Regions from separate parts of the Homo sapiens genome. Here all the other regions are linked to region 2. The links are contacts of gene promoters, found by promoter capture Hi-C in blood cells and fetal thymus (Javierre and others, 2016). All regions are on one chromosome and are shown on one strand. Each heading gives the region's core, a stretch centred on a gene start or on the middle of the fragment in contact. The rest is flanking DNA. Distances are from core to core; before and after follow the strand shown.

Region 1 (3,239 bases), core at 361-2,860, 1.1 Mb after region 2:
CCTTTGCTTCTGTAACATGTGGTTTTTTGTTTGTTTTTGTTTGTTTATTTGTTTTGACTATCTGATATGGTTAGAATAACATTTCCATCCAACACCCATTGATATAAATGAGGGATTTTACTTTGGGAATTAGTCAATTATAGTGGATACAGTCATAAGTTTTTGAGTCAAACTGCTTGGGCTTAAATCCTAGTGCTACTTTTTATTAGCTGTGGGACCTTGGGTACTTACCTTCCCTGGGACTGTTTTCTCACCTGTAAAATGGAGTAATATTAGCATTTCATAGGATTACTGTGAAGTTAAATAAAAATAATCTATGTCAAGTGACTGGCGCAAGGAATGTTCTCAACAAATAATGTATTATTTTGCCTATTAACTCAAGAAAGAAAGGTGACCATTGTCAGGAATTGGCAAAACGTATGCAGGGAGCATAAGTAGGCCATTTTCTGGACATGGCGTGGCGTCTCCTCTATTTTCCTCACTTGCTTGTGCACAGCAGCTGTCCACAAAGCTGACTGAGAAAAAGGAACCACCGTCACTGCCAATCACCCAGGAAGACACTCATGCCTTTCTGTCTCCAGACATCTCCAAAAGTTTCAATCAGGTAATCAGCATATATTATTGCTGATTTGGGGACATAGTGAACAGCCTTCTCCCAAATTCTCTACCATACTTTGCTGCCTGAGCTTTAAAAGCTCTGGTCTTTCTAAGTCTCTGTTGAGTAGGTCTAGCTGCTTCTGATTCTGTTCCAAAAATCTTCTTTGGGATGAGTGAATGAAACCCAGTTCTGGCAGGTTCTAGCACTCCTCCTGTAGTCTAAGGGTCTCAGACAAACCACCAGTCCTGCCTCTTCTTTCCAAGAAAAGGCACAACAATAAGCAATCTCATAGTGGGAATTCTGGAAGCATCAGTGTCCCATCCTAGCCCAGCCAGCCAAAAATGCTCATTTAAACTGACTATATTCTTGTGGCTACCTAACTAGTGTCTTTACCAGTGAATACGATTCCATGCTTTGGGCAAGTCCAGGTTGCAGACAACTGCAGAAAGAAGCATGGCCAACCTGTGCTTGTAAAACCTGGTTAACCAGGAGAACTGCACCAAGGGATATCACTCCTACTTATAGGTCAGTATGTCTCTCACAAACTGCTTTATTTACAAAACCAAATACTGTTTACTTGGTTAGATAATCTAAGACATACTTTCATTTAATCTGAGTCACTATATCTTTTTGCTCCAAAATGAAGCATGTATTGAAGTTCTCTGAGTTTCTGTTCAGTGTCGAATGAAGGCAATTTTAAAAACTGATTAAAAAGAATTCCTCTTGGATTCTTTTTAATTCTTCCACCTTCCTCCGAGGGTAGTACTAAAGACGAACCAACATCATACTGGATTGAGCAAGTCACCAGACTGTATTTTAACAAAGCTAATGTGAACGTTGACTTTTGACCCTTGAAAAGTGGTCACAGTGAGCAGTTTCCTCTTACCTATTAGCATCCACAAAAGAGTTCCAGGCATTTACACTTAGAGAAAATCACCTGGCTATTTCAGTGGAATAAGGTGGACAGCCAAGGTCAATGAAGCATTGCAAGTTTCCCAGCACTTCCTGGAGGCAGAATAGGGACTGACTTTTGTCTCTCTCTCCCTCTTACTGTCTCTCTCTCTCTCTTTTAATGGCATTTAACAAATAGCAAAATAGCATCTGAGAAAAACTTTAAATAAAAACCCCAGATGATAAACTCTTGGAGGAAGAACCTATTTTTTTTAAGCATAGTGTCTTCTCCCCACCCCGCCACCCCTTCCTGATATCTATTCTCACTTTCTGAAATAAACATTTTACTTTGCTAATGCTGTGAGGTGTGGGCTGGGAAGTTACTCGTTCTCTCCTTCACTCATAGAACAATTTCTTAAGGCCTAAGTGAGAATTTTACCTACCTCTTTCAAATGAGGGGATCCTTACTAAATTTAACATGCAATAAAAATTCAGATCTGGAAATCTCAGAGTCACCTCATAAGAGTTTTGCTTTGCTTTTCTTAGGCGGAGGAACTATATCAAGTCCTCCATCTAGCGGTATCACTTGGAATTGTTTGTAAAAGTGTTCTAATGTGAATTTTGGGAGCAGAAGATATTTATTGAATTTCAAATTTTAACTGACTAGCATGATAAAAGTGGATAAGAGAGAATTAAAAGATAAAGTGCCTAGTCTCAAAGAGCTTATAATGTAATGAGAAAGAAGTAAAACTTTATAAAATCAAAAATCTAATAAATAGTTTTCAAACCTAAGTATAGGTGCTTGACTCCTTTCTTCTCCTAAGGTCATCACTGGGCAGATGTGTCAGTTTGCATATGCTTGGGGCAGAAAAGAGGAAAGGAGTTGTTTGCCAATCATAGAGTCAGAAAAGAGAGGAGATCCTATCTGCAAACCAAAGCTCCAAGTGCTCCTGAGACAGTCTAGGAGCAGCGAAATGATTTTCCTTATAAGGCTCTGGGATAGGGGAGCTGAAACATCCTAGACCTGACAAGAGACCAGTACATCTGGGGGAGCCTGGTGGAAAATCCAAGGATACTCCAGATGCTTGAGAAGGTCAACCAGCTGCCCAGGCCAGCACCTCAGTGACCCTAGGAGGGTCTTCCATAGTCTAAAGAGTTGTGACATGCTGAGGTGAACCTTTCTTTTATCTCAAGATCTGGGAGGAGCCCGAGAATCTTGTGACTCCTCTCCCCATCCATTAATTCCAGGATTGCAGCTGGTTGGCTTGTTGTCATCAACAAAATGAAACATATCTTCTTTGTCTGACAATTTACAATTGCCTGGGAGATAGGCCTGCCAATTCTAAGGTATCTCCCTCCTAATAATAATAGTACCAGACAGCCTGTGGGACCACACCAGGATGAGGAAAAATATATTAATGTTCAAGAAACTATGCTGGAAGCCTATTAGGGCATACTTCCCACATAAAATGAGTATTTCTGGATAGCACTTGATAGGTGCTTGGTATCTCCTGAATTTTGTCCTGGCAAATCCTGTTTGCTGTTATCCCTGCTTCAAACACTCAGTGTTCCTCTTTCTTCTCTGCTTCCCGGGCCTGCTGCTGGTGGAATATTTGCGTTTGCAGTTGTCTCTTATACTCCTAAGCTAAACCACTGCATCTCCAAAATTCTCCTCTTCATCCTTAAGTTCTTTAAAACCTTCATTTATGCAATCCTGTTCCATAGCATATCTTTTCTATTATTTTGCTTT
Region 2 (3,405 bases), core at 624-3,123:
ATACATTTTTATGGGATCAACATTGCTTTGTTGGGAGAGATGGGGGAAACTTTTTAAACAAGGTTGGAGTGTCTCTGAGTGCCAAAATTTGTTTGGTAATGAGAACTCACTCATCTGATGTTGAGCCTTTCAGCACTTCTTACTGCAGGGCACCTCCGTCCCTCAGCCAAACATATGTTCATTTCAAGATGCTAAGAATCAGTGGGCTCCTCTTGGCCCTTGAATAACTTTTAAAAAGCCTGTATTGGTATGGTTTGTATCAGACTGAATTCAAAGCCTTTAAAGCTCAGGCTCATGCTCTTTAGAATTTCTGTCAATTTCTGATAAAAGATTGGGAAGATGAGGCCAGGCGCAGTGGCTCACGCCTATAATCCCAGCACTCTGGGAGGCCGAGGTGGGCGGATCACGAGGCCAACGTGGTGAAACTCCGTTTCTACTAAAAATACAAAAATTAGCTGGGTGTGGTGGTGCACAGCTGTAATCCCAGCTACTCGGGAGGCTGAGGCAGGAGAATTGCTTGAACCCAGGAGGCGGAGGTTGCAGTGAGCCGAGATAGCACCACTGTACTCCAATCTGGGTGACAGAGCGAGACTCCATCTTGGGAAAAAAAAAAAAGATAGGGAAGGTAGACACAGAAACGTTAACAATGTGATGGGACAAAAGTAACCTTTTTTTGTACTGTTCTACTAAATTATGCCACATTTTAATACTGTATATACAGAGAGTATGTAAATATATATACATGCACACACATGTGTATATAAACATGGAAACACATGCACACAAATACACATATGTGCGCTCACACAGGCAAATAATAACAGAAAATTTCAAAGATTTTGGAAAATCATGGAGGGTTCCAAAAGTGATTTTGGAAAATCATTTTTGCAGAATTCTGAAATTAAAATAAAAAGAAAATAAAACTGAGGCTAAGATCACAAAACTAGTCAAATTCTTCCCTAATTCAGATTTGGACCTAAGATACCATATTGGGGAAAACTTTTGTGATCTCAAATCTCATGTCACCTAAAAGAGGGCATGTGAGTCAGGGTAAGCCAATGCTGTTACATACCAGCTCATATTTCAGTAGCCTTACATAATCAAGGCTGGTTCTTGCTCATATTACAAAATCACTGCAGGTCAAAGATGGTGGTGAGAGAGGGGGTTCTGCTCCACACAGTTATACAGGGACACAGTTTCCTTCCATCTAATGGCTCTTCTAGGGCCTTAGAGTCCTCCACTGATACTTGCATCCTGCCAGCACGTGAGAGGAGAGAAAGAGCATGGAGGATGGAGGGAAGTTTTAGGGGCCAGACTTAGGGTGCTCTATGATTCTTCCACCCATGTTCTACTGGCCAGAATTCAGTCACACCACCAACCTAACTGCAGGGCTGCTGGGAATTGTAGTTTAGGTCTGTACCCAGGAGGGAAAGAACACAGCTATGGGTGCACATCTGGCCAGTTTCTGCCACAGAGGGATTTCTAACACCATGCTTGTTTTTTCAGCTTTCACCTTGACCATTCCTCAGTTCAGAGAGTCTCTGAGATCTTACGCTGCAACTCCCTGGCCACTGGAGCCCCAGCATTACCTTTCCTTCATGGAATTTGAGATCACATTTCGGCCAGACTCAGGAGATGGTGTCCTCCTGTACAGCTATGACACAGGCAGCAAAGACTTCCTGTCCATCAACTTGGCAGGGGGCCACGTGGAGTTCCGCTTTGACTGTGGCTCTGGGACCGGTGTCCTCAGGTGAGGGCTGAAAACTTCTGGGACTCTTTCCCTTAAAAAGGCAAATAGTAACTGCTTCAGAAAAAAACCAAATCGCCATTCAACAGCTCACACTCATCCTGTCTTCTCTACATGCTTATCTTCTGAAACTTGTCCTGACTTGTCCTGCTTCAGGCAGATGACAGGCTTCCTATAGAGAGTGCTCTCCTGCCCACAAGGCTTCCTTTTCTCAAATAACTACCCAACAGGTAGCAATTGTATGCTTCAAACTATGGAAAATGGACTTGCTTCAGGTGGAGGTAAACTGCCTCCATTTCCACCTAAAGTTATGTCATGTCATCCGCAGAAACTTGATGAACTGTAACTAGTCAGCATCTCATACAGAGCATCACATGATGGGCACCCAGCAAATACATGTCAACTAGTAAAAAAGTATTAACAAATATTTTTGAACAAAAATATCCTTGATGACCTCACTCTAAATATTCACTTTCCTCTTGAACTATTTCTTTAATGGAAATTGACAGTGAATCATCAGCAATGCAGAGACCCGTTCCCTAAGCAATATGCTCAAGAAAGATGTGTGATGAGTGGTTTCAATAGCATAGCAGGAAATGGGTGCTTCTGCAGTACTTGCTGGTATTTGCAGAATTGGTGTAAGTAGTCAAAACTTTCCTACTGTTATCTAGTTTGTACTATTAAATTACTTAGCAGGTCGATTGTTCCTTGGAGCCTGTAGTTGGTAGATGCAGACGCTTTTATTTGTTTATGTCTCCCATCTTTTTATTGTGTTGATGGTAGTTTTAACCTTCAAGCCAGAGGGGCCACTAATCGCATGCAGACATGCTTCTTGTTCCTACATTTGTCTAATTCGTCTTTTTTGAAACTCACTAGGATGTTTTGCTCCATGGTGCCCTGTAACAGGGTATCAGTTAGTCTGTTGTTTCAAAGAATATTGCAAACTGTTTTCAATCTTTATCCATATTGCTAGACTGTCATGTTTAAAAAGAGTATGTAGGTGAGATGCTACAACCATGCATTGCCCTTAACTACTGATCATTTTTCCTGGCTGATAGAAAATGCTCACTGCATTAGGTTTTAACAGTTCTTAAAAAGGATGGTTTGTTTTTGTCCTTGTGGCTGAATTCCTGCACATCAGTGACACCTTCCCCTCTAGGGGAACGGACAAATATTGTTGTACCTCTGGTTATGCAAAAACATCCTATATTTCAAGACAACTTTGGTGGGGATTTAATTGATTCAATTTACATATGATTATGCAAAATAGCCTAAGCAATTCACTTAGAACTGTATGTCAAGTTGACAAAGGAAGACACCTTGAATATCACCTTGCACTTTTAAATGGTTTTCTTCCTGGATAGGGAATGACCAGAAAGATCCAGGAGAGGTTCTGGGCTCATCAGCCCTCCTCCTGGACAGACTACCCCCTCCACACTGCCTCTCTGCAGTGGCAGCTCCAGCTGTGGGGTCACAAGCACATGGAACCCTTAGAAGTCCAGCATTTCTCTCTTTCATAACTCTGTGCTTATTTTTGACACGAGGTGCTTTTAATTTTTTTTTGTAAATTTACTAAGTTATTGTTTCACTGCCTGTCAGCAAAGGCAACTGGAAAAAGAATTTTTAAGAATTAGGTGATGAAAATGAGGCAAGAGTTT
Region 3 (3,247 bases), core at 318-2,817, 1.1 Mb after region 2:
ATGAGCAGATATGACATATGGCTTGTTTCCAGCAGAAGTTTCAAAAACCAGCCCTTTTCCTGTATTTCTGCCAGTCCTTTTCCTTAGGAAACCATGTTTCCCAAATCAGGGACTGCTCCTTCAGCCCGGGTCACAGGCTAAGATGAGAAGTCACATGAAACAGAATCATAGCAGCTGATCCATACTCACCAACATATAATACAAATGAGAAAAAAATATCTTTTGTCATAAACCACTGAGATTTCAGGTTTACTTATTATGATAGCAAAATTGACTAATATAAATCTCCCTCCATAGTCCATCCCCAACCTACTTATCTAGACTTATATGGAACTACAACTGCACATGTACCCTACACTCCAGCCAATCTGGAAGCATTTCTATTACCCCTCCTTCATGTTTCTGCTTTTATTATTCTCCTAGCTGAAATTGCTCCTCCCCGATATTCAATAGACCCCACTTCAGAGATCTTTCCAGCTAGCTCAAAATCTATCTCATACATAAAATCTTTCTGAATGCTTGGTTTGAAATAACATTTTCTTCCTCTGAATTTCTCCAGGCATCCCATGTTTATACCAGCTCTCATTCTATTTGTTAATAATAATAAACAATAGTTTTTATTGAGAACTTATTACATATCAGATGTTGGTTTTACCTATTGTGTTACTTTGGATACATCTTGATGGGACAAAATGAAAAAAAAATGTATTAGGGTTGGATGAAAGCCTGTGGAGAATAAAACAGGAGGGAGTAGCAGAAAGTGTCAGGATGCTTCATACCACAGTGATGGTCTGACACCTGTGGCAGAAGAGAGGGAAGGAAGGAGGATTAGGTAGAAAGAGTCTCCAGCTGCAATGCAATTTCAAGGAATGTTCAGACAAGCCAATGGGGAATCTTCAAGCCAAAGCCATCTTTTGAGGGGCCCCATATCTCACAGCAGCGGTCTGCATTGGTAGCCCCACTATGTTTGATCATTGGCCATGAGCAGCCCTGTGGGAATATGATGGCGAAAAGAACAGTAGTTGGGGTTGTTAATCAATTATGCTCTCACAGCATGGCCACCACACCTACATTAGTTCATTAAATCTTCACAAAAATCCTATGAGGTCAGGACTATTATCATTCTCGTTTTAAAGTAAGGAAACTGAGACCTAGAGAGATTAAGTGACTTTGTTACCATCACTCAGGTAGTAATGGGATAGAGCCAGGGTCCATCCTCTGAACTGTCATGTGACTTTCAAATCGGCATTGGTTGAGTGTATGAATAAGTAAGCATACTATGGTGTTGCTGTGAGAAGGTGAAAATCTGAGATGACAATAATTAATGCCACTCTGTTTTTGTTGGACTCAGAAATTGACAATCTTTTCTGTAGTTCTGGAAGATTCCATGTCTCATAGGAATGGCCTGCATTGCACACAAGTTCTTTTTCTATCTGTGGGCCAAGGAATAGAACTGATTTTTTTTTCCAGATGACTACTATTTATTGTTCTGTTAAAATATTCTAAAATATTTTATGAATAAAATAGTTCATTAGGAGAGCTTCCTAACACCCTAAAGAAACAAGGCTCTCATATATTTTTTTCTATAATCCTTCAGCCATTATTCCAGTTCTATTTCCTGCTGAGTCTAATAGATGATTTGTTTCTAATCATACAGTCGGTCACATTATGCCTATTCTTTTGGTTCTGTAAAGGCATATCCCATTTTCTCCTAAGAAAGTCTTCTTTTTTGGCCAGGTGCAGTGGCTCACACCTGTAATACCAGCACTTTGGGATGCTGAGGTGGGTGGATCATGAGGTCAAGAGATCAAGACCGTCCTGGCCAACACGGTGAAACCCTGTCTCTACTAAAAATACAAAAATTAGCTGGGTGTGGTGGCATACGCCTGTAGTCCCAGCTACTTGGGAGGCTGAGGCAGGAGAATTGCTTGAACCCAGGAGGCGGAGGTTGCAGTGAACTGAGACTGAGTCACTGCACTCCAGCCTGGTGACAGAGTAAGACTCTGTCTCAAAAAAAAAAAAAGATTTTCTTTTTTTTTTCTTACTCTGTAGTGAGAAGTTGTGAATGGATTTACTTAGAGAAGTAAATAAATAGTTAATATTTTGAAAGGAGACTTAAACCAGTCTCCTGTCCCCCAAAAGCACACACACACACACACACACACACACACACACACACACGTACCAGTGGGGGTACAGTGGTACCAATGCAGACCATAACTGTGAGATATGGGGCCCATCAAAAGATGGCTTTGACTTGAAGATTCCCCATTTACTTGGCTGAACATTCCTTGGAATTGCAGTGTAGCCTGAGACTCTTCCTACATCCTCCTTCCTTTCCTCTCACATATATATGTCATGTGTGTGTGTGTGTAGGGAATCAATACTCAAGATGGGCTTCTTTCTACTACTGTGGATGGTGTTTATGTAAAATGCTGGCATGTGGTGAGATCAAAAGACTTTCCAGGGTGAATATAACCTGCAAGAATCTTCTGCAATGGAAAACTAAAAGACACGAACAAACAAGCAGCCATACCTCAAACCCTTTATCATTCCTTTCATTAATCACGCTACTCCTGCCCACAGTATGTGGAATTATACTTTGTAGCTCCAGGTGAAAACCTGCCCTGGACATTGTGGTGGCTGTGGGATCAACTCTGTATCTTAGGAGCAATTGACTGGTACAACAAACAACCATAGTTAATGGACCTGTAATTAAAAAGCATTTCCCTCCCCCACCACTGCTACCTTAAGATTAATTCATTGGAGGATGATTTTTTTTCTGCCTTTGGAAGAGAACTCTGTCAGTCATCATGACATATTTGGTCATTCTTAGGTTTAAGAGACTCCAAATTGCTTGCTATAAAACACAGTCTTGATTTGCATTTCTCTGATGGCCAGTGATGATGAGCATTTTTTCATGTGTTTTTTGGCTGCATAAATGTCTTCTTTTGAGAAGTGTCTGTTCATATCCTTCACCCACTTTTTGATGGGGTTGTTTGTTTTTTCTTGTAAATTTGTTTGAGTTCATTGTAGATTCTGGATATTAGCCCTTTGTCAGATGAGTAGGTTGCAAAAATTTTCTCCCATTCTGTAGGTTGCCTGTTCACTCTGATGGTAGTTTCTTTTGCTGTGCAGAAGCTCTTTAGTTTAGTTAGATCCCATTTGTCAATTTTGGCTTTTGTTGCCATTGCTTTTTGTGTTTTAGACATGAAGTCCTTGCCCATTCCTATGTCCTGAATGGTAT

What was found. Contacts are between HindIII fragments. The CHiCAGO score rates a contact against its expected background, and 5 or more counts as called.
Region 1: a fragment that was not itself captured here is called in contact with the fragment with the promoter of EGFLAM-AS1 in region 2 in 1 of 17 cell types (naive CD4 T cells); the score reaches 6.1 in naive CD4 T cells.
Region 3: a fragment that was not itself captured here is called in contact with the fragment with the promoter of EGFLAM-AS1 in region 2 in 1 of 17 cell types (non-activated CD4 T cells); the score reaches 9.3 in non-activated CD4 T cells.

The regions. Positions count from the first base shown.
Region 1 is chr5:39,568,555-39,571,793 of GRCh38, forward strand. It overlaps the pseudogene CFAP53P1. Among named protein-coding and RNA genes, the nearest start is that of LINC02104, 50 kb to the left of the region's middle. The HindIII fragment of the contact is 6,095 bases long and covers 1-3,239 here.
Region 2 is chr5:38,425,503-38,428,907 of GRCh38, forward strand. EGFLAM-AS1 (EGFLAM antisense RNA 1) reads right to left here and starts at 1,874. Exons shown (of 2, transcript NR_046737.1): 1 at 1,590-1,874. It overlaps EGFLAM (EGF like, fibronectin type III and laminin G domains), which reads left to right. Exons shown (of 22, transcript NM_152403.4): 14 at 1,507-1,750. RefSeq lists an enhancer at 1,096-2,295. The HindIII fragment of the contact is 14,108 bases long and covers 1-3,405 here.
Region 3 is chr5:39,549,740-39,552,986 of GRCh38, forward strand. No RefSeq gene overlaps it. Among named protein-coding and RNA genes, the nearest start is that of LINC02104, 31 kb to the left of the region's middle. The HindIII fragment of the contact is 6,628 bases long and covers 1-3,247 here.